Linked DNA regions of Homo sapiens: regions 2, 3, 4, 5 and 6 are each linked to region 1. Evidence: promoter capture Hi-C in human tissues and cell types (Jung and others, 2019). All regions are on one chromosome and are shown on one strand. Each heading gives the region's core, a stretch centred on a gene start or on the middle of the fragment in contact. The rest is flanking DNA. Distances are from core to core; before and after follow the strand shown.

The links. Contacts are between HindIII fragments. The study calls those that stand out against the background at their distance.
Region 2: a fragment that was not itself captured here is called in contact with the fragment with the promoter of EEF2K in region 1 in 1 of the 25 tissues and cell types used here (lymphoblastoid cells).
Region 3: a contact is called between the fragment with the promoter of NDUFAB1 here and the fragment with the promoter of EEF2K in region 1, in 1 of the 25 tissues and cell types used here (IMR-90 fibroblasts).
Region 4: a contact is called between a fragment that was not itself captured here and the fragment with the promoter of EEF2K in region 1, in 1 of the 25 tissues and cell types used here (mesendoderm cells).
Region 5: a fragment that was not itself captured here is called in contact with the fragment with the promoter of EEF2K in region 1 in 1 of the 25 tissues and cell types used here (lymphoblastoid cells).
Region 6: a contact is called between a fragment that was not itself captured here and the fragment with the promoter of EEF2K in region 1, in 1 of the 25 tissues and cell types used here (spleen).

What each region holds. Positions count from the first base shown.
Region 1 is chr16:22,205,003-22,207,769 of GRCh38, reverse strand. It overlaps EEF2K (eukaryotic elongation factor 2 kinase), which reads right to left and starts at 1,492. Exons shown (of 18, transcript NM_013302.5): 1 at 1,091-1,492. RefSeq lists silencers at 992-1,261, 1,422-1,721. The HindIII fragment of the contact is 13,900 bases long and covers 1-2,767 here.
Region 2 is chr16:20,854,944-20,857,856 of GRCh38, reverse strand. DCUN1D3 (defective in cullin neddylation 1 domain containing 3) reads left to right here. Exons shown (of 3, transcript NM_173475.4): 3 at 1-2,913. Among named protein-coding and RNA genes, the nearest start is that of DCUN1D3, 44 kb to the left of the region's middle. The HindIII fragment of the contact is 5,933 bases long and covers 1-2,913 here.
Region 3 is chr16:23,594,867-23,597,724 of GRCh38, reverse strand. NDUFAB1 (NADH:ubiquinone oxidoreductase subunit AB1) reads left to right here and starts at 1,409. Exons shown (of 5, transcript NM_005003.3): 1 at 1,409-1,602. The coding sequence starts at 1,435. RefSeq lists a silencer at 1,662-1,751. The HindIII fragment of the contact is 9,015 bases long and covers 140-2,858 here.
Region 4 is chr16:21,175,274-21,178,167 of GRCh38, reverse strand. The region is part of intron 4 of LDAF1 (lipid droplet assembly factor 1); the gene reads right to left. Among named protein-coding and RNA genes, the nearest start is that of LDAF1, 18 kb to the right of the region's middle. The HindIII fragment of the contact is 5,741 bases long and covers 1-2,894 here.
Region 5 is chr16:20,793,020-20,795,719 of GRCh38, reverse strand. All of the region lies in intron 12 of ACSM3 (acyl-CoA synthetase medium chain family member 3), which reads right to left. It also overlaps a transcript of ERI2 not described here. Among named protein-coding and RNA genes, the nearest start is that of ERI2, 12 kb to the left of the region's middle. The HindIII fragment of the contact is 5,019 bases long and covers 1-2,700 here.
Region 6 is chr16:20,874,466-20,877,418 of GRCh38, reverse strand. All of the region lies in intron 1 of DCUN1D3 (defective in cullin neddylation 1 domain containing 3), which reads left to right. Among named protein-coding and RNA genes, the nearest start is that of DCUN1D3, 24 kb to the left of the region's middle. RefSeq lists a silencer at 1,761-1,840 and an enhancer at 2,487-2,706. The HindIII fragment of the contact is 5,197 bases long and covers 1-2,953 here.

The sequences.
Region 1 (2,767 bases), core at 243-2,742:
TGACTGGCTTCCTCTTAGGGAGCTTCTGTGGGCCTGGGGATCACTCTGACCCTCGGTTTCCTCCTCGCTAAAAACATTAGGATAGACTACGTGACTCAATTCGCTGTGACTTCACAGCCTGTCCAGGGCCCTCAACCACAGGGCTCTTGGCCATCAGATGTCTCCCGGGGCCATAGACTATGACACTGTGTGCCAGGCACTGTTCCAAGCACCTGACATATACATACTCATCTACTCTTTCCAAGGATACTAAGTGGTAGATACTAATACTGTACCCATTTTACCGATGAGAAAACCGAGGGCCAGAGAGCATAAATGAGCTAGAATTCCAACCCAGGACTCCAGCCCTAGTGTTTCCTGCTTTCCTGGCTGAAGAAGCACCCACCACCGAGGTCCCAGAGGTCGGGCTCCCTGGGACCGTCCCCCTGGGCAGATCTCACTTCCCCATGCGGCCCATCTGTCACACTCAGGGCGCAGCTGGGCTGGTTCCCCGAAATCCCCCAGGCGCGCGCAAAAGGATCTAGGCCGGGGCTTACCCGGGAGGCCCCCACCCCCGCGCGGCCACCGGCTTATTAATGCCCAGCCCCTTGGCACACATGTCAGCAGCGCCTGCCAACAAACTCCCGCAGCCAACAATGCAGCAAGGGCGCGTCTATACAGTCCTGGAGGTTCCGGGAATTCGGGCTGACGCAGGCCTCTAGTTCAGGGGAAAGGTGGGGGATGCGGCTCTGAGCCCTGCAGGGGACAGGAAGGCAGCGATGCGCCCACACTCTAGGGGCCCCGAGGGGGGAGGCCCCCAAACTCTCTGTCACTTGCAGCCAGATCACCGCCCATTGCTTGCCAATTGCTTTCCATATCCACATCGCCTTTAATCCGCACAACTTCCCCATTTCTCCAAAGCAAGCACTTAGCCCCAGAGAGTTTAACAACCAGAGGAGAAGCGCCCCCACACTCTCCTTCCATGCCTTCTCCGGCCCCATTCCCAAGCCCAGACCCAGCACGCTCCAGACGCCAGCTGCACCCGGGCGCACAGGCCTGCAGCGCGGGCTCCCAGCCCCCCACAGCCTTGCCGGCCGCGGTCCACACCTACCTCCCTCGGGCAGACAGGCGCGGCAGCCGCTGCCCACGGCCGCGAGGGTCCAGAGGAGTTGGCAGAGGCTCGCGGCCCGGAGCTCCAGGGTGCAGGGCGGGCGGGCCCCCCGAGAGTGCCGGGGAGCGGAGAGCGGGGAGCGCTAGCTGGCGCTCCGGGCAAGCAGCTGGGGCCACGCGGGGTAGATGGACCGATCCCAGGGCGCGCGGGGCAGTCGGAGTGATCCCAGGAAGGGCGCAGGGGCCGTTGGGACGATCCCGGGATGTGGGAGCGCGTGCCAGGGGGGACTCGCGTGCAGGCGACAGCGAGCGGGACTCGGGTGGCTGCAGGGCCGGGAGTGCGGGCGCTCGATCCAGGAAGGAGGGGAGCTGAGGCTGAAGCTGGGGCTGGTCTAGGTTGAGCAGAAGCGGGCGGGCAGGGGCGGGGCTGGCCTGGCGGGCGCACGGCGTGGCGCTCACGTGGCCGCCCCCAGGTGGCCATCACAGCGCCTGCAGCCGCCTAGCGGGCCTCCTGGCTCCGGCGCTGGCTCCCAGCCCCAGGTGCAATGGTTAGCGCTAAGTCTTGGCTCCCCCTGCTGAGTACACAGTGTCCGGTTCTCCTGCTCAAGGCTGGCCTAGCATCCGGCAGCGAGGGGGCAATTCGAGGGAGTGACCAACTTCCGTCCTCTCCCGCCGCGCCTCGCCATTCTCGCCTGCTTCTCGCTTAGTTCCTGTATTCCTGTCCTTTCCAAAATCATTAGTGATCCAAGCCCATCGCTTGTTTGTATGTATCTCTATCCATAACCTTAAAATATTTTTTATCGGAAATACTTTGTTTTTCCTGATTTCTGCTTTGTAAAAACAGGCACGTATGACGATTGCAATTATTTGTGTAGTTTTAAAATTAGTATCTCCTTTAGTTATTCCTAACTCTTGACACAGGGCCTGGGTGGCACACAGTAGATGCTTAATAAATACCTGTGGCATGAGTGGTAGAGTGGCTAAGGTATAAAAAAGAAAACGAATTAAAACTAATAGCTACTGTGAACACTTTAATATTAGGTCCTTCCAGATACTTTGTTAGTGAAATTTTAGAAATTTCACACATTCTAGATAGAAAAGTAGTAACAATGACATGTTTTGAGGGATTTCTCTCATTCCATCTTCCCAGCACTTTGGGAGGCCGAGGCCGGCAGATCACCTGAGGTCAGGAGTTCGAGACCAGCCTGGCCAAAACGGTAAAACCCTGTCTTTAGTAAAAATACAAAAAAGCAGCCGGGCGCGCCTGTAGTCCCAGCTACTCTGGAGGCTGAGGCACGAGAATCGCTTGAACCCTGGAGGCAGAGGTTGCAGTGAGCCGAGATCGCGCCACTACACTCCAGCCTGGGTGAAGGAATGAGACTCCGTCGCAAAAAAACAAAAACAAAAAAATAAAAAAGAAAAAAGAACAAAACTGAGGCTTATAGAGATAATGACATGCCCCAGGTGAGGCAGCTAGAAAAGGCAGAGCCAGCAGTAAATCCAGACTTCTCTGATTTCAAAGTTCAGGCTCTCCAAAGAACTTTTTTCCTTATTTATAAACCCCAAAGAGAGTAAACTCCAGCTTTTGGCAAGACAAAATTGCACCTGGAATTCTGACCCTGGGGCCGTCAGGCAGGAAGGGAAGATCAAAGATGCTGAACTAGTCTGTCCAAGCCCA
Region 2 (2,913 bases), core at 1-2,500, 1.3 Mb after region 1:
AGGGAACATACTTGGAATTTGTTTTTTTTTTTAAATCCTAAACCTGACAGTTCCTCCTTCAGAGGGGCAAATGGGAAACTTTAAGATCACCCACGGTATAGTACTGCTAGAAAGCTGAAGGGGGTCTTGGGCCAGATGCCTGGCTTCTGTTCTAGCTAAATAAGACTCTTGAATAAGTCTCCAGGGGTCCCAGCAGGTTCTGTGGGATCAGTTGTAGCTGGGTACCCAGACTGAGGTTTTAAAAAGACTGCTTTTTCATTAAGCCAGTTTGCAACTCATTTTCCCCGGTTCTGGATTGGGTAGTGGTTGACTGAGGGAAAAGCCAGGCTGCTCTTGGCCAGATAAGGCCCTTTCCATCCCAGATCAGAGTGTATCAGAGAAAGCTGCACAAAAGAGGCAGGCAGCCCAGGACCCTGAGTACTCTGGAGAAACTAGGTTCCTTCCCCACCCTTTAAGAAGACATTCCGTGCATTAGATGTACTAGAGTGGATGTATTTTGTTGTTTTTTAAATTAACTATTTAGCCTCCTCATCCCCCACCAAAAAAGCCATTTAGTTATTTTTTGGTTATATTGATCCATTTGCAAATGAGAAGCCAGAAAAGGGAGCAGTCAGGGAGGGACTTACAAGTTCCTTTCAAGTTTGAGTACTTGATGCTCAGCAAAGATTTCAAGCTTCTGCAGTAGCTCTGGGCCAATGCTTGACTCTTTCATGACCACAAGAAATGCAGTTTTTCTGCAAAGGGATCCAAGGTGAGGTGTGTGTAGGGTTTGAAGTTATACTTCTGGGAAGTGAAAAGTCTTGTTCCTTTCAACCTAGAAATAGGTTTGCCACTTAATGAGTGAGCAGTAAGTCTGTGTAAGAGGCTGAATGCATGCCCCTCAGATAAGCCAGTACACTCCTTGCTTAGCAACAGAACATCAGGGTGATGTGGAGAGGGGCAGGATGTGGACGCCACTTTGGAAATCGGCAACATCTGAGGGCAACAACAAACAAGTGTGTTGGGAAATAAGAAATAACTCAGTTTTGACAACTGGCTTTGTCAGCTTTTGTGATGTTTCTTTAGCAGTTTATTGGAAAGATGGTATGAGATGACGTGCTGCTTCATTGAATTGCTCTTTCCCCCATCTTTGCCAAATCTCAATGTATCGTTCTTAACCCCACCTCCTGTAAGGGGCTTTGCTATGCTTCAGCTGGTTGTCTCAGCAGCTGAAGTGCTGCCCACCTGTGTGAGTTGGGTCCAGGAAACCATGTCTGCCCTTCTGATAAGGGAAGATGAATCTAGAGCTGGGTGAAGATCTAAATTTTAACCAAACCCCTGGGCCCAGGAAAATAACAATTGAAAATGTACAAGGCAGTGTTTTCAATATTAAACTTCCCCAAGGAAAGCACAAACTAGTCTTTTTGGAAAGGGAGAAAGGATTAAGCCACACAGTATTAGTCTTTGAAGCAGTACTGGTCTCTAGGGGCTGGTGCCAAAATGGAGTCCCATAGTAGTTACACTCGATGGCCTCATGTACTATATACTGTGCCAAATTGTATTAAACAGTGGTGGGGAGTTACTGGGATAAGAACTTGTCTAAAAGTTTACAAACCAAAACAGATCTGTTAGGTTGGTGCAAAAGTAAGTTTTTGCCATACTTAATGTATTGCCATTAAGTATGGCAAAAACCACAATTACTTTTACACCAACCTATGTATTTAAGAATGTTTGGTTTGCCAGATTCCAAATGAGGTCTTCAGTGCAGCAAAGCCCAAAAGGTGTAGACTCAGTTATGCAATTATAAGGTTAAGGCGTAGAAGAAAGCTGCTGCTAGGTTTTTGTTGCATTTTACTTGACTGCTCTGCTGTTTTTCTTGTCTCTCATGTTTGGTTAGCTATGACTTGAGCATCTTGGTAACTGACAAAGGTCTTCCTTGGGGGACTTGAACATCTTGGTAAATGACAGGTCTTCTTGGAGGACTCCAGCAGTATCTTGTTTAAACGACTGAAAGGACTATTAAGGTTGTTGAATTGTGTTAATTGGGACTCATTGAGGAAATGCGACATTGATCCTCCTCTTATTCCACAGTGTGTTTTCTGATCATATAAAGAAGGTTCCGAACCATCCATCCCCCTCAGAGTTTATTCCCCTGGTAAGCTGTAATTGCATATCCAGTTTAAACTGGACTGGGACTGCATGTTGGTGAGGATCGGCAGGGGTTTTCCCCCTTTTCGAAAGATGAAATAGATTCTTGAGCACTGGTTGCAGAAGCCAAAATAGTTCAAATAGCTTTGCATAACCATTGGGTTCTGCTTCTGATTCAGGTGCTGGGCATCATGTCCTCCCTATTCTTCTCTTCTTGGAAACCCAGCCTATCTCATAAATACCTACTTCCGCCACCCATCCAACCTCCCTGCTCCTTTCAACACAAATCTTGGATATTGCCAAAGGAAGCCATTCAGCAGCTGCTGGGGTTTTTCATCCCCCTGACATGCATACATTTGCTCTGGGAGAAGTGTCTTCCCTCTGACCCTGGTCCCCAGCTCCGTCTGTGCTTAATTGCTCTTACCTGTTGCACTAATGAATATGACTAGGTTTTAAAGGGGGAATGTGAAGCAATAGGCACATGGGGCTTGGATGAATTGGTCCCACAGATATACCCTGCCTTAAGCCGCTGAGGTGATGAGTCCACTGCTCATGTGACCCTCCACCTTTGTGGATCCCTCTTGGTTTGTGACCAGTGTGTCTGTTTGTTGAGGTTGTACAAACTTGACAAAAGTTAATACTTTTGTTTGTATTTTCTGCACTGTTGCACTCTCCAAATGGCCCCTTGAGTATTTTTATTGACTTGTTACACACATTTTTGTCTTTGATGTCTACATTTTTTCCTTTAATGTTTTTTATTTGGAAGGTTACCTGCTGTTGGATTTA
Region 3 (2,858 bases), core at 160-2,659, 1.4 Mb before region 1:
CCCAAAGTGCTGGGATTACAGGTATGAGCCACCGCGCCTGGCAGCATACCATTACATTTTATTTTACTTGGATTTAACAAAAATAAAAAGAAATTGAGGTAAAACTGGTGACATTATTGGATCATTCATTCAGGCAGATTTCAGAATTTGGAGTCATTATCCCGTGTGTTTCCATTTCAGTCAATATCCTTTAGCTCCCTGCTTAGAAATAGGAATTAGCCTTCTTAAACTCCTCCCTCGCTTACCTATTTTTGTTAGCTATTGTAAGGAACATGGCTGTGCTTTGGTCAAGGATAGGCCAAGGTAAGATGTTTACATCCTGCGTGACTCAGCAAGTTTAGACAGAGGCGTATAACTCCACTTGTTATCACAGCCATGTAGGCATAACATGGGAAGGTCATCACTTGGCTCTAAGCCACTATTTTCTGTAAAAGGTATAATTGCCCTGCTGATACTGTACAGGCGTTCGTGCCCAGAGAAAGAGAGAGCCAGAGCTGTCAGTCTTTGCAGACAGACAGGGGGAGCCAGATCACAGCTGAGAGAGAGTTAAGCTGCTGACCCTGAAGGCAAGGGAGAGCCAGCCTCGCAGTTGTGTGGGGGAGCCATGGGACTAAGCAGCTGAGACAAGGCAGACAGTGTGAGAGAACTAGTGTAAGTAAGCTGCTGATGAGAGCTGCTGCTGAATAAAATCATCTTTCACCTGCCTACCGTCCCCTGAGTGTTCTTTCAGCTATCTGTTCATCCACCCACTCCCCTCAGACCTCGATATGGGCTGGAACCTGGCTGTGGGCATGACAGTTGGCATAGTCGTGGACCTGACAGCTATATTATACACTGTCAAGTTTTAAAACATGTATATTGTTTTAATCGTAATTCTCACATTTATTAGTCTTAGGTATTGAAATTGATTATTTTTTCACATTATTATATATATTTTTTTACCTATTCAATAAATGTTAATACTTGTGGAAGAATTGTGGAATCAAAACTTTGTCCTTTTTTTCTTTTAATCTTTTTTGTAATAGAGACGGAGTCTTGCCGTGTTGGCCAGGTTGGTCTTGAACTCCTGAGCTCAAACAGTCCTGCCACCTTGGCCTCCCAAAGTGCTAGGATTAAAGGCGTCAGCCACCGCACCCGGCCCCAAACGTTTAAACAGATGTATTTCAGAACTTTCAGATAAAAAATGAAAGTAGGTTTCTCGTGCCGTGTCGTTTAGGGAAAGACGGCGACGTCTGCACAGTTTAGTTGTGACACCAAGCAGTTGTTCGTCCCCGAACCTGGATGGGCTCCGAGGGCGCAGTGCCTCCAGGAGCCGCCAGGGGCCGCCACCGCCGGCGGTGCCCGACAGCGCTGCCGTGTGCGTCGCCTGCGCGCCGCCGGAAAGGAACCCTGGTCCGGAGGCGGCGGCGCAGTGCATCCTGGGTTGGCGTAGCCATGGCGTCTCGTGTCCTTTCAGCCTATGTCAGCCGCCTGCCCGCGGCCTTTGCGCCGCTGCCCCGGGTCCGGATGCTGGCCGTGGCCCGGCCTCTCAGCACCGCTCTCTGCTCCGCGGGGACCCAGACGAGGCTCGGGACTTTGCAGCCGGCCTTAGTGCTCGCGCAGGTGACTCGTGGTGACTTTGCTGCCGCTTGGCAAGGGTCAGGGATTGGGCCCGGTGGGGGTGGGGGCCGGGCATCCGGGGCGCGCCAGCTGCAGGCAGGGGTGACCCGGGGGGCAGCCGGCTCGCTCCGCAGCCCCGCTGCCTAAAGGTGTTTAGTTGACCCCTGACGGGAGGCCGGGTGACCTCGTAATAACGAGCAAGAGCACTGACTCGAGTCCAGCACTGCTGGGCTGCCGCTTACCGAAACTTTGGACAAGTCTCCTAGCCTGGCTCACACTCACCTGCAAAATTGGGATCCTGGTCTCTACCTTGCGGAGTAGCAATGAGGATTAGATGAGTTAATGCGGCTAGAGCACCTCGTACGGTCTCAAAATAGCGGTCACCGTATTGTAGTGAAAGCAGCATGCAAAGAGGCAGCCACACTGGCCTACAGCCTTCTCCAGAGCGGTTTTCTCTCTGCAGTTCTGTCCTTACTCTTCCCTGCAGCACCTTCTGCCTGTGTCCAGGACTCCTGGAAGTAATTCTAGGAAACAAGCCAAGTGACCTTTGACCAATAAGGATTTGAATTGCGCGGGTCCACTTATATGCGGATTTTTTTTCAACCAAACGCGACCAGTATTTACGGGATGTGCCGCCCCGCGTATAAGGAGGGCAGGCTCTTCCTATAAGCGGATTCTGCAAGGCTGACTGCGGGACGTGAGTGTGCGGGGATTTGGGTATAGTCGGGGGTCCTGGAACCAATCTGCGCAAATACCAAGGAACGACTGTACCTGTAGTATATAGCTTGAGCTGATGAAATCTGCGTGAGGCTGAAACGCCGGGAGGCAGTGATTTCGGTGTTGTTGTTGTTGTTTTTGAGACAGAGTCTCGCTCTGTCACCCAGGCTGTAATGCAGTGGCGTGATCTCAGCTCACTGCAACCTCCGGCTAACGGCAACCTCCGCCTCTCAGGTTCAAGCAATTCTCCTCCCTCAGCCCCCCCGAGTATTTGGGACTACAGGCGCCCGCCACCATGCCCGGCTAAGTTTTGTATTTTTAGTGGAGACGGGGTTTCATCATATTGGCCAGGTTGGTCTTGAACTCCCGACCTCGCAATCCACCCGCCTCGGCCTCCCAAAGTGCTGGGATTACAGGCGTGAACCACCGCGCCCTGCCTTTTTTTTGTTGTTTTCTAAGTTCTCCAGATGACTCTGAAGTGCAGTTGGGAATAAAAATAACCGTCTTAAGGTAGGATAGACTCCCAAGGTCAAGTTATGAAA
Region 4 (2,894 bases), core at 92-2,591, 1.0 Mb after region 1:
AGGAGGCAGGTCAGTGTATTTGATCTAAATATTGTTTAGTTGGGTTTCATATGTAAGGGAAACTTACAGTTTTGTTTCCTTTTTCTTTTCTTTTTTAAAAATTTAAGCTGTATTATCTTTTATGTTTTAGGGCCAAAATTCCATTAAATCATGAAATAAATTATATAGCTCCTCTTCCCCCCATTCCATGCTTTCGATCATTTAATGAGGGAGTTATCTTTTTTTGAGTTATAAAGAATTCACTAATGCAGGCTGGGTACAGTGGCTTACACCTATAATCCCAGCATCTTGGGAGGCTGAGGTGGGTGGATCACTTGAGCTCAGGAGTTCAAGACCAGCCTGGCCAACATGGTGAAACCCCACCTCTACTAAAAACACAAAAATTAGCCATGCATGGTGGTGCACACCTATAATCCCAGCTACTCGGGAGGCTGAGACAGAAGAACTGCTTGAACCCAGAAGGGAGAGGTTGTGTGAACCAAGATCAAGCCACTGCACTCCAGCCTGGGTGAGAGTGAGACTCGTCTCAAAAAAAAAAAAAAAAAAAAGAATTCGCTAATGCAAGGGTTCTCAGATGAAAACCATGTTCACAATAACATGACCTATTATATGCCTTTTTCACTCACATTCTCTCACAAGGGAACAGTGCAATTTTTCAAAATATATTTGGAAGATCTGCATGACTCAATGAATTGATATTCTCCCATTGACCAATGGGTAAAGTTAGAAAATCATGCATGATAAAGATCAATTTAAAGTGTGACACAGACCTGAAGATTTCAATAAAATAGAGTAGAAAAATTTCACATTTCAGCTAACCTTTAAGAAACTATCACTTACGGAGTTTTGGTGGACTATCATAGAATATCCACAATCGTTTAAAAAAGCTTTGCCTCCCTCTCCCAACCGCATGTTAGTGATGCTAGGTCTTCTTCAAATACTCCAAACAGGACAACATAGCACAACAGAATGAATGCAGCCACACAAACGAGAAGCCGGCTGACAACTGTTAAGGCAGATATGAAAGAGATCTGTAAAATGTAAAATAATACCACTCACAAATTTCATTTTGTTTTGGAAAATATAGTTACTTTTCATTAAAATTTGTTATTTATATCAACAGGTAATATTGTTCCTTTTAAATGAATAGATATTTTTAAAATTTATGCTATGATTTCTCATAGAATAATTATTTCAGAACAAGAAACAATGAGGAAGAAAATTTTTTAAAAAGAAATAATTATTAATATTCTTTTTTTTTTTTTTTCCAGACAGAGTCTAGCTCTGTCACCCAGGCTGGAGTGCAGTGGTACAATCATAGCTCACTGCACCCCCAACCTCCCAGGCTCAGGCCATCCTCCCTCCTCAGCCTCTTGAGTAGCTGGGACCACAAGCATGCACCAGCTAATATTTAATTTGATTTAATGTAATTTATGTTATGTTTATTTTAATTTATTTTATTGTATATAGTTTTATGTCATGTTAGTTATTTATTTTATATTTCAGCTCATTTCATTTGTTTTTTGAGACAGGGTCTTGCTCTGTTGCCCAGGCTGGAGTGCAATGGTGTGATCACAGCTCACTGCAGCCTTGAACTCCTGGGCCCAAATGATCCTCCCATCTCAGCCTCCTGAGTAGCTGGGACTACAGGCACGCACCACCACAGTTGGCTAATTTTTGTATTTTTTGTAGAGATGTGGTCTTGCCATGTTGCCTAGGTTGGTCTTAAACCCCTGGCCTCAAGTGATCTTCCCTCCTTGGCCTCCCAAAGTGCTATTAATACAATTAACCACATAAATAACATCTCTTCAGATGCCTCAATAATTTTTAAGAAGGTAAAATGGGACTTGAGAACAAAAAGCTTAAGAACCTCTGCCCACGTGGAAACAATTGGTTGGCAGCAATAGGGGAAGATAAGGAGATCAAGTACAAATCCTGGATTTGTTTTTCAATTTCTTCATTGATAAGTAGGGAGTCAGATTCTGCTACTTCCTGTGGTATAATCTTTAAGAACTCACCCTGTTACAGCAGCGTTCAGAGGCAGGGAGGAATTTTATTTCAGAAGCATCACCCTCAATATGCAAAATAGGCCAATATTTCTCCTTTTACATCTTTTAAGACTGGGAGTGAGTTAGTGCCTTACGCCTATAATTCCAGTTCATTGAGAGGCCAACGGGGGAGGATTGCTTGAAGCCAGGAGTTTGAGAATGGCCTGGGCAACACAGCAAGACCCCATTTTATAAGTAAAATACAAATGAACAAACAAAAGACTAAGAGTGATCAAAGCGATTTTTGAAAAGGTGATTATGACTCCAGGGTTGATTCAATTAAGCAATCCTATAAGAGCCATCCTTGAGCAATTTTATATTATACCCACTTCACCCTTTATTTTTCAACATAGGAATAATAACAGGATAAACTTTTGGTAAGGAGTTCAAGGGCTGTTTTGTAGAAAAACAAAACTCAGGATATCAGTTCTTATAGAGCAATGGTTGGCCAAATCCAGCAAGCTGCCTGTCTTTGTAAATAAAGTTTTACTGGAACACAGCCATGCCCATGCATTTACTTCCTGGTCTGTGCTGCCTTCATGCTACGGCAACAGAGTTGACTAACTGCAGTAGAGACTATATTATTTACTAAATACTTACTATCTGGCCCTTTCCAGAAATTCCAGTAGAGACTATATTACTTACTAAATACTTCCTGTCTGGCCCTTTCCAGAAATTGCCAACTCCTGTTTTAGAGAGTCACTTTGTATCTTGATTAAGAGGGCTTTGGAATTAACTCACCTGGAATTAAGTCCCTTCTGTGCTACTCTCAGCTTAAGGGACTTGGCTTAATTTTCCTTATAATAGAAAGGGGCTAAATTGTTAAGGATTACATGACATAAGGCC
Region 5 (2,700 bases), core at 86-2,585, 1.4 Mb after region 1:
AGTCTAGGTGCATCAACTAGTATGTACCTCCAACGCCAGATTACCAGCCCGGAGCTGGCTATGGAATGATGCTTCCCTGTAGGCACAGTTCCAGGAGAGTCCCCTGAAGCTTTTTTATGATTAAGTATCCTGCACTTAGGTGCCTGAAATCTTATTAAATTCAAGGATTCGTTTGTCCAGCTTAAAGATAAGCTGGCAACATTTCCTATCCACTTTGATCTGGGAGTAAAGATTTCATTGAAAAGGAATTATTTGAAACAACAAATTACCAGGACAGCCATTTGGTGAGAAACAAAGACTTGAAGTTATAATTTTTTCACATATTGAAAACTGTTCACCAGTGGGCAGTTTTACATTGTATGAACAATTACCCATTTTTGTCTTTACCCAAAACCCTTGTGGCCAGGCACAGTGGGTCACGCCTGTACTGCCAACATTTGGGAGGCCGAGGTGGGAGGATTGCTTGAGCCCAGGAGTTCGAGAGCAGACTGGGCAACATAGTGAGACTTTGTCTCTAAGAAAAAAAACAACAACAACACTTGAACATTTTTAATTTACATGTGCCATGCGGCAGTTGTGAACCCTTGTGTGTGTGTGTGTCTATGGATATAATTTTGTTCCATTCACTTTTTGACATTTTATAAAATGCATTTGTAGTTATGCTAGCTCTGCTGCATTAACATTTTTACAAATTAAAAAATTATGCTTGTTGTAAGTGAGTCATTCAAAGGTAAATTATTTTAAAAACTGCAATACTGGTTCACATATTGACGATTTCTACAACTTGGATAGTCTCTTTTATCTTTTTAAACTACTGCAGAAAATGTTAAATTAACAAGGAACAACCTAACATGGGTAAGAGTATGAACTCTGAAGTCAGAACAGCTGGGTTCAAGTCACAGTTTGTTGTGTAATGTTGGACAAGTTAGGTAATCTCTTTGTGCCTCAGTTTCCTTCTCTGTAAAAGAGATTATGATGATTAAATGAATTAGCATAGATGTATAATGCCTGGCACATAGTAAGTCATCAAAAACATTAGCTCTTAGTTGTAGTCTTAGAATTACAAGAAGTTTGGGTCTTATTTTTTAACCCAGAATCCATAAGTGGGCTTCAAATCTCTATGAAATTCTATGCAAAATCTTGTATTTTTCTGAGAAAAGTCTATGGCTGTGCCATTCAATATGATAGCTGCTAGCCACGTGTGTCTATTTCAATTTAAATCAATTAAAATTAAATAAGATTAAATACTCTCAGTCACACTAGCCACATTTCAAGTGATTGATAGCCATGCATGGCTATCGCATTGGATGGTGCAAATATAGAACATTTCCATCACTGCATAAGTCTTAACAGTGGCCTATGGTTTTCTTCACATTCTCAAAGAGATATGTGATCCCAAAAATTTAAGAACCTAGTGATCTAGACACATATTCCACAAGTCTTTCACATTCCAATGTTAAAATGGTATTTCAAATCCAAATATTCTTTTTAATCAATTCTGGAACTTGCTACCCAATTACCCTGCCTGGCAGGACCCAGCCTAGAGAAGGACCTAACCCAGGTAGAATAGGCCTGGCAGCAGAAAGGGAGGCATGGAGCACATGGCCGTTTTGTTCATGGATACCTCGTTTGAGATACCCACTCACATCTTCTACTAGGAAATGCTGCAGCCTACCACTGTTGGAAAACTGGCCACACTTTCCCCCTCACTCTGACTAATCCAAGCCCTATGCCAAGCCCCCGGAGCTGTGAGGGGACCACAACCCACTTATAGACCTTTCCTATATTGTACGCTAGGATATCAGGTGGCTGCCAAGCTAACCCTGTTCCGAAAGGCTCAGCTACCATCCTGTCCCTAGTAAGCACCTGTCTAGGTGGGTAAAACTGATGATGACTAATGGTAGGGGAGAAGTACAGGAAGAGCTAAGACTCGTGAAACCTTGCCGATGATGTTCAGAGCAAAGAGACAAGCCAATAATCACTGACTGTTTTCCCTGCCCTCAGCTGCCTGGAATATACCCTTTCACAGTAAATAGCGATTGTCATCCTAGCAACTTGACAAACTACCAATTCCCAGCCACTGGGCTATATCTGGAACAACTTTGGGCCATCCAGGAGGACTTAACAGGGTATCTTCTGGCATCAAAGATCAGTTAGGGGAATCAGTCCTGGGGGGAGATCCACCCTCCACTGTAACATGCACATCTCCTATTTTTACCTTAAACTTTTTTATTTTTATTTTTATTTTTTTGAGGCGGAGTCTTGTTCTGTTAGCCAGGCTGGAGCACAGTGGCACGATCTTGGCTCACTGTAACCTCCCCGTCCCGGGTCCAAGTGATTCTTCTGCCTCAGATTCCCAAGTAGCAGGGATTACAGGCGTGTGCCACCATGCCTGGCTAATTTTTGTATTTTTAGTGGAGACAGGGTTTCACCATGTTGACCAGGCTTGTCTCAAACTCCTGACCTCAGGTGATCCACCCACCTCAGCCTCCCAAAGTGCTAGGATTACAGGTGTGAGCCACTGTGCCTGGCCTGCCTTAAACTTCAGGACCTATTTCATCCCCTGAGATTGGATACCTTCTAACTCTGCCCTGTGCCCTGTGCTTGAAGCCCTATACCTAGGATTTGAGATAAGGAGCTTGAATACATGGTACAGAAAGTTCTGGATTTGTATTGACATCAGTGTCATCTTCAAAACTT
Region 6 (2,953 bases), core at 92-2,591, 1.3 Mb after region 1:
ACAGAGTTGTAAGTGCCGTGAAGAAGTAAAACAGCGTTGTGCTGAATTAGAGGGAAGTGGCATTTGGATTGGTTGAACATGGAACACATGTCAGCACGTGAACTGAGACCCATCTCATATGAAGCAGCCATTTATTCTTCACCGTGACCTTTTTTTTTTCATCGCAGAACTCAGTCCCATTTTTTTGTTAATTGATAAATAATATATGTAGTTTTGAGACATGTGATAATATGATACATTCACATTATGTGTAAAAATCAAATCAGGGTAATTGGGATATTATATCACCTTAAATATTTATCTTTTCTTTATGCCGGGATCATTTAAATTATTCTCTTCCACCTATTTTGAAATGTACATTAGATTATTGTTGACTGGAGTCACCCTACTGATTTTTCCAACGCTAGGTCTTACTTCTGTTTGTACCCACTAACCCACTTCTTTTCATCTCCCCTCCCGCTCCCCTTCCCTGCCTCTGGTAACTACCTAGAGAAGATAACTGTCTCTCTCTTCCTGAGATCCACTTTTTTAGCTCACACATGAGTGAGAACATGTGCTATTTGTCTTTCTGTGCTTGGTTTATTTCACTTAACGTAATGACCTCTAGTTCCAACCGTGTTGCCTATGACAGGGTTTCATACTTTTTTATGGCTGAATAATATTCCATTGTGTATATGTACCACATTTTCTTTATCCATTCATCCATGGATGGGCACTCAGGTGGATTCCATATTTTGGCTATTGTGAATAATGCTACAATAAACATGGGAGTGCAGATCTCTCCAGTATATTGATTTTCTTTCCTTTGCACATATACCTAGTAGTGCAATTGCTGGATCATACAGTAGTTCTATTTTCAGTTTTTTGAGGGCCCTTTATACTGTTTTCCATAGTGGCTATACTCATTAACATTTCCACCAACAGTATACGAGGGTTCCCATTTTTCCACATCCTTGCCATTCATTATTCTGTTTTTTTTTTTTTTCATAACCATTTTAACTGGGGTGAGATAATATTTCGTTGTGGCTTTTATTTACATTTCTGTGATGATTAGTGATGTTGAGCATTTTTTCGTATACCTGCTGGCTATTTTCATGTCTCCTTTTGAGAAACATCTATTCAGATCTTTTGCCCATTTAAAAATCAGATTAGAGTCGGGCACAGTGGCTCGAGCCTGTAATCCCAGCACTTTGGGAGGCTGAGGCAGGCGGATCACCTGAGGTCAGGAGTTTGAGACCAGCCTGGCCAACATGGTGAAACACTGTCTCTACTGAAAATACAAAAATGAGCTGGGCCTGGTGGCATGCGCCTGTAATCCCAGCTACTCGAGAGGCTAAGGCAAGAGAATCACTTGAACCTCGGAGGTGATTGGTTGCAGTGAGCCGAGATCATGCCACTGCACTCCAGCGTGGGTGACAGAGTGAGACTCTGTCTCAAAAAAAATAAATAAATAAAATAAAAATCAGATTATTATTATTATTATTTTGCTATTAAGTTGTTTGAGCTCCTTATATATTCTGGCTGTTAATCCCTCGTCAGATGGATAGTTTGCAGATTTTTTTTCCCATTCTGTGGATTGTCTCTTCACATTGTTGATTGTTTACTTTGCTGTGTAGAAGCTTTTTAGCTTGATATAACCCCATTTGTCTCTTTTTGCTTTGGTTGCCTGTGCTTTTAAGGTCTTACACAAAAAATCTTTGCCCAGACCAGTGTCCTAGATCATTTCCCCAGTGTTTTCTTCTAGTAGTTTCATAGTTTCATGTCTTATATTTAAATCTTCAATCCACTTTGATTTGATTTTTGTATATAGTGTGAGAGAGGGGATCTAGTTTTATTCTTCTGCATATAGTCATTTAGTTCACAGTGATTTGTTTTAGTTCCCGTTTTCAACTGAGAAGACTGAGATGGAATATGGTTAAGTGTGAGCTAGAGAGTTGGTAGAGCTGGGCTGTACAAACCTAGTCATTTTGCATCCAATGCATGTACTTTCCCTCCTGGAAGGCACATGACTATACTGGAGCAGCTGAAGGAGCTGCAATATCTGTGCAACTGGTTTTTGAGTGAGAGAATTGAATGTTGGTTGCAGAACAGTCAAGACACTGAACGCAATTCAGAAAAGTTGCATGTAATTTCATGGACCCCCTATTGTTGGATGCAACATTTGTGTGTGTGTGTGTGTGTGTGTGTGTGTGTGTGTGTGTGTGTGTGCATGAGCGCACGCAGTTTATTCTGGGGCCATAGTTGTCTTTGAGTCTTCAGACTTATTGATGACTGAAAGAACTTATGGTGCTGCTGCTTTATTTTATAAATTTTTTATGTTGTTTCTTAAAATAGGGCATAGCTGCTAGGGCAGGGTTTTAATAGACAGCATTGTGGTGGCCATTAGGTGGCAGCAATTTTGGCAGGTCATGTGGGTGGGAAGTGGGCAGGAACGAATCATCAGATGTCTTACTTTGCAAAGCTTGCAGTACCACAGTGCCTTCCAACAGGTATAGAGCTCCATTTTTAATTACCTGCTTATCTTTGCACATGTTAATGTACTCTGGGGCCTCATGCTACATGAGCATTTGTGAAAATAAGTAACTTAAAAAAAAAAATCAAAGCCTAAACCTTGGGGCCTCAAGTTTCAACCTGCAGAGAACGTATTCAAATAAAGATGTGCAAACATGAGCATTTCCTGTCAGTCTTTGAAACTTAAACACTTTCTTAATAGGCTCTTCGGCATGTAAAATCAAAGAGAAATTGTCTCAGTGATAGGAATTGAAACCAAGAGGGTAGCCAAGTTCAGGTTAGATTTGGGCTTTCAGTTTCATGGGATATGGTTTAGATCAAATACCTGTTTCAGCTGGAAGGTTGATCATGTTATTGTACAGAGAAAGACTTCTGAGAGATTTTTGCTTTCAGCCTTTCACATGGTGTCTGAATGCTGGGACGGGGTTCCTCTTTGGGAACA